2 separate regions of the Homo sapiens genome follow, and region 2 is linked to region 1. Evidence: promoter capture Hi-C in human tissues and cell types (Jung and others, 2019). All regions are on one chromosome and are shown on one strand. The core of a region is centred on a gene start or on the middle of the fragment in contact, and the rest is flanking DNA. Distances in the headings are between cores, read along the strand shown. Region 1 holds the start of G2E3 (G2/M-phase specific E3 ubiquitin protein ligase). Region 2 has its middle 280 kb from the start of G2E3.

What was found. The method cuts DNA at HindIII sites, captures the fragments that hold promoters and counts their contacts. A contact is called where the count stands out against the background at its distance.
Region 2: a fragment that was not itself captured here is called in contact with the fragment with the promoter of G2E3 in region 1 in 2 of the 25 tissues and cell types used here (IMR-90 fibroblasts and mesendoderm cells).

Annotation. Positions count from the first base shown.
Region 1 is chr14:30,557,773-30,560,472 of GRCh38, forward strand. G2E3 (G2/M-phase specific E3 ubiquitin protein ligase) reads left to right here and starts at 1,386. Exons shown (of 15, transcript NM_017769.5): 1 at 1,386-1,500. All of the region lies in intron 3 of G2E3-AS1 (G2E3 antisense RNA 1), which reads right to left. RefSeq lists an enhancer at 1,052-1,241. The HindIII fragment of the contact is 13,115 bases long and covers 1-2,700 here.
Region 2 is chr14:30,282,746-30,285,445 of GRCh38, forward strand. No RefSeq gene overlaps it. Among named protein-coding and RNA genes, the nearest start is that of G2E3, 280 kb to the right of the region's middle. The HindIII fragment of the contact is 6,239 bases long and covers 1-2,700 here.

The sequences.
Region 1 (2,700 bases), core at 136-2,635:
TTGTAGACACAGATTATTTTCTATCTTCCACTGTTAAAAACAGTACATCAGTTAATAGCTTTACACACCCCCTGTGTCAGATTACCTGTAGCATAGGTTCTCAGAAATCTAGTAAACCTTTCAAACTGTATTTTTTTTTTTTTTTTTTTTTTTTTTTTGAGACAGAGCCTCGCTCTGTCGCCCAGGCTGGAGTGCAGTGGCGCAATTTCTGCTCACTGCAAGCTCCGTCTCCCGGGTTCACACCATTCTCCTGCCTCAGCCTCCCGAGTAGCTGGGACTACAGGCGCCTGCCATCACGCCCAGCTAATTTTTTGTACATTTAGTAGAGACGGGGTTTCACCATGTTAGCCAGGATGGTCTCGATCTCCTGACCTCGTGATCCACCCGCCTCGGCCTACCAAAGTGCTGGGATTACAGGCGTGAGCCACCGCGCCCGGCCCTCAAACTGTATTTTTGACAAAGGCTAAAGGTATGCTGTCATGGTTTGGTTTGTACTGATCCGTTTAGGTAATTCAATGTTATTAGATGTGAGGATGATCTGGTGGCAACATCAATCACAGCCATAAAGGTCAGAGTTATTTAGCGCCCCTCACCCCCTAGCATTTCCAGTCCTTCCTTTAGTTTCTGGAAGCTCCCAGATGTCTCTTCAGAAGCTTAAGACGTTTTGGATCAAAGACATACTGTGGTCCTCGATAAAGGAAAAGATACTGTTGTTTCAATAATCTCACGGGACAATACTTAATAATCTCGTAAAGTGAGCCCTTATCTGAGGGGGGAAATAAAATTTATTGCCTTCTAACACCATCAAATAGTTTATTTGAGACCAGGAATTGGTCCGACCACTTATTTTCAACTTTTGGCTGAATACGGGTGAACTTGGCTTTTTGTTTTCCCTAAACCCAGGACAGAAATAAATTAAAAGCCCTGACTGTGCCGGGATAGGACTGAGAGGCCCAGGAAAGGCTGCACTAAGTACTTGGAGGGTTTGTTTTTTTCCTTCTTGCTGCTGCTGCTGTTTCCTCGAGGATGAAGGGAAAGATAAAACCCTCCTGCCTCCGTTCGTGCTTTCATTCGCCCCATTCCTCGAAGGTGACGAAACTTCAGCACATCTCTGTCCATTTTGGAAAAAAGAGGATCCCCTCAAGAGCAAATAGGCGGAAACAATGACCCCGCGCCCGGAGTTTTTCTGAGCTCCTAAATAGGGAGAGAGACCCGACAAAACAAACAAGCGAAGGCGACACAGCCAGGTTAGCACCGAGCAGCAGCGCAGGAGCGCCAGAAGGGCGGGAGCACACGGGCCCTTCCCCACAGCCAGCGCCTCCGCGGGTCCCACCCCTCGAGGGCGGGGCCGACCGCTCTTTCCGGGTTTGCGAGCGGAAGTGGACGAATTTGAATCCTGTGGGCCGTTGAATGTGGCTGCTCGCGGTCGGCGTGCCCCGACGTACAGCGGGCCGGGAAAAGTGGCACTGAGGCTCTGGAACTTCTGCCCAGCTCTCCTTGGTGAGTAAATGGGGAACGGGAAGACGCAGAACGTTCCAGAGAGAGAAGCAGGACCGTGGGGTGGGAGAGGGTGTCAGGAGGCCGGACGTCGCAGCCGGGGCCTCGCAGTGCTTTTGGGGACGTCTGGTGCTGGGGCCCGGCCTGGAGACTAAGGGAATTCGGGGCACTGGGGGCGTTTGCTGGACCAGCGCTCTCGACGGTTGCGCACGCCAGCCAGCTCTCAGTGTTGAGGATTCGGAGGCCCTGCCGGTCCCCCGCGAGTAAACCTTGTTTATACGCATCCTCCGTGGCTTTTTTTAAACCCGTAGTTTATTATTTCCACCAATTCGGCTCGAATGCTGAAATTTTAACAGTAGTTAAATCTCACTGTGAAGGCGTTGCCACGTTTAAACAAATCTCTTTTAATGAAAGATGGAAGGTTGGGGCGGGTTTAGAATGAAAAGATGCTCTACGTGGCTCCGCGTTCCTCCTGAGAGAGATACCCGGGCAACCTTGATTAACTCTGGACTGCAGGGAAGTGACAGTCTTTGAAATGCCTGAGTGGGATTTAAACTGAAATTCGAGTGTCCTTTGTATTTAAAACCCGGATATTTTTCTTTCACGGTTGACATTTTTCATGTACCGCAAAAATCCGAGACTCCTATTTAAACCGGCTGTGGTAACAGCGGTGGTGATTAACTAGGGTCTTAGTTTGCAAACAATAGGGATAAGGTTTAGTTCCACCGCCCTGCCTTTTCGCCTCCCTCATTCATTGGCCAACTGGGTTATTATGGAGTCTTTTTGGAAGTAATCCACTAATGCTTTGAGCATCTGTTTCTTTGGGTTTTATTGTTTTGGGCTTTTTTTTTTTTAATTTTTAATGATGAACTATCTGAAATATGGAACTCTGTCTAACCCAGTAGTAAAGTCATGCCTTCTGGAATGGTTTAAAAGTGTGCCATAAATGTAAACTATAAATGGGAACTTTAAATGTGTACAAGTTTTACATCTTTATTAAAAATCGTCAGTTTTGTGTAGCTTAATACGAAAAGATATTTTAAGTTCCTTTTAAGGTTTTAACACCAGGATATTGTACCATTTAAATGTATAAATATATTTTTAAAAGTAGGACTTCATAATAATCAGAATAAAAACATTCCTTCATCCAGTGCTGGCTATTCCAGCACCCCCATTCTTCCTGCTATTGAACTTTTAAGTGTT
Region 2 (2,700 bases), core at 80-2,579, 280 kb before region 1:
CGAGTACAATTTTTTCCTTTGAAATTAAATAGATTACTTGGTTTCCAACATTTAATTATGTCTATCATCAGAAAAACTTTTCGCTTAATGGAATTATTTAAACAATATTATATTAATGGAAAACATTATTCTCAGGACTAATTAGGTGCCTTTGATGTGAACTCCTTTGCATTCACTGTATGCATGACATACTACTGTCTTATAGTGCAATGAATAGCAGAGCAATGATGATTCAATAAATGTAGATCCATTTTGCATATTTGCATAACTTAAGAAATACCAACATCATTTTCTGAGAAGCCTTCCCTGATTTTCAGCCTAGATCCAATTTCTCTGACATATGTTCACAAAGCTGCATACTTTTCCTTCACAGTATTAAGTATCTAATATCACATTTCTTTGTTAATAATTATTAATGTCGATCTACCCACTAGAGTGCCATTGCTTTCCTAGTGTTACATGAATAAATGAATCAGTGAAGTCATGCGTCATTACTAGAGTATGTTTCTACTCCATTCCATTTATTTATTTATTTATTTATTTATTTATTTATTTATTTATTTATTTTGAGACAGAATCTTGCTCTGTCGCCCAGGCTGAAGTGCAGTGGCATGATCTCCGCTCACTGCAAGCCCCGCCTCCCGGGTTCAAGTGATTCTCCTGCCTCAGCCTCCCGAGTAGCTGGGACTACAGGCACACACCACCACGCCTGGCTGATTTTTTGTATTTTTACTGGAGACGGGGTTTCACCGTGTTAGCCAGGATGGTCTTGATCTCCTGACCTGGTGATCCGCCCGCCTCGGCCTCCCAAAGTGCTGGGATTACAGGCGTGAGCCACCACACCCAGCCTATTTTCTTTTTGTATTCAACAATAATGAAAACCTATAAGCCCCTCAATAATGGAAGCTAAATCTTATTTCTCTTTGGGCCCAACACAGTGCCGGGCTCTTAAAACTCAGGAACATGGCTTTAGCTGAAAAGTCTGTGTCAGAGCCCGAAGCCCTTTAAGGTTGAGCGGCGTCAACCAGGAAGTCTTTAGCCACTGCCACAAAAGGGCTCATCTGGCCTCCAGATTTGACAAGAGTTTTCACTTCTACTTATGTCCAACTTCCTTCCTTTTTCTTGATTTCTAGGATCCAGCCCAGCTTGGTTTGGACTTTTTCGGTAACATCTATCCCCAGACTCTGGTTCCTCTCTCACTGGGCCCTACCTCTTGACTAGTTAGGCACCTTTCCTTGAAGAAGCATTTCTCAAGCTTCCTGGGCTTTAGCTCTCTGCTGCCCCCATTAGGCAGTAATCATTGCCAGAGTAACTCCTAGAGAAATCTGCCTGCTCAAACTTAAGTAGCTATTCTGATTTGTCTCAAGATAAGGTCCCAATGCTTTCAACTTGTTTATGTATAAAAATTATATGTAACCCAAATTCTCCATTTCATTTTTAAAATCATTTAAAGCAGAATACTAAGTGTTAGAAGGAGACCCACTGTGACTTTGTGCCCACTGAATAGGCTAGATTTACAAGGCAAGCACTGAAGATAGTTATTTCTGGCTGAGGCTACTTTTGCAATCCAAGTAATGACATGAAGGCAATAGTTGAGATGATGTATGTCCATCGACACATTTGCTTGTCATCCTAACAACAGTCATAAAAATTAAAATGCACACTTTAATATTGAACACAGTTTATTTGTCTGAAAAAATTCTTTATTAACATAACAGAACCCATATTATTGAAACACAAGTTACATACGTTGTGCATTACCACTTAAAGTAAATCAAGGAATAACAAAAAATTAACCACTGGACAACTGAGTTGGTTAGAGGAGAGAGAGTGAGGAGTTACTTTTTATTTTTTGCCTTTCTGTTCACTTTGAAATGTCTAAATGTGTACATATACGCTTCTTATTCTTAAATATCAGCAGAGGCTATCAAGGTAGAGAGATTGTGGAGTATATTTTCAATGTCTTCTGTATATTTTTGTTTTTAAGAAGCTAAAATTCATTTTAATAAAGAAATAGGGCAGAAATTTTTTAATTAAGAAAATGACACTTAGAGGAATATCGAAGTAATAAAACTAGCTAGCATAGATCAAGTACTTCCTGACCAATTTAAAATATATTTATTTATTGCCTAATGATCAAACATTGAAGAAAGACTTCGCTTACAAAGTCTCCCATAAAAATCCTGAAAAGTAGTCCTAGGTCGCAGTCAGCACAGAGGGCAGAGGTCACACTGAGAGCGACCTGCCTCCTGTAGCTTCAGAGAACCTGGTATTTACCCAGCAGTAAGCATTGGACTGGGTACCTGTTACGTGCTATTTATACAGTTATGACTTGGTGGTACTTCTTGCCCCCAAGGTGCCTACAGTCTCATGGAGGAAACAGATGCATGTAAAACAAATAATTAAAATATTCTATCACATTTTACATAGTTAAAATATTTTATGTACAACACCCCAAGAGTGCACAGAGGACGAAAGAGCTATCTTTAGGGGGAGAGAATAGAAGGTATTTCATTGAAAATATAATATTGCCAAATACCTTATGAAGCTGAAAATCAAACTACTTAACCAAGAAACAGTTCATAATGTACTAACATAAGAGAATGACACTCAAAATTTTTACCACGCTAGCCTCAAACTCTAACTTCATCTTACTACATGTGCCCATAAATATTATGTTTCCACCGCATGAAAATCCAA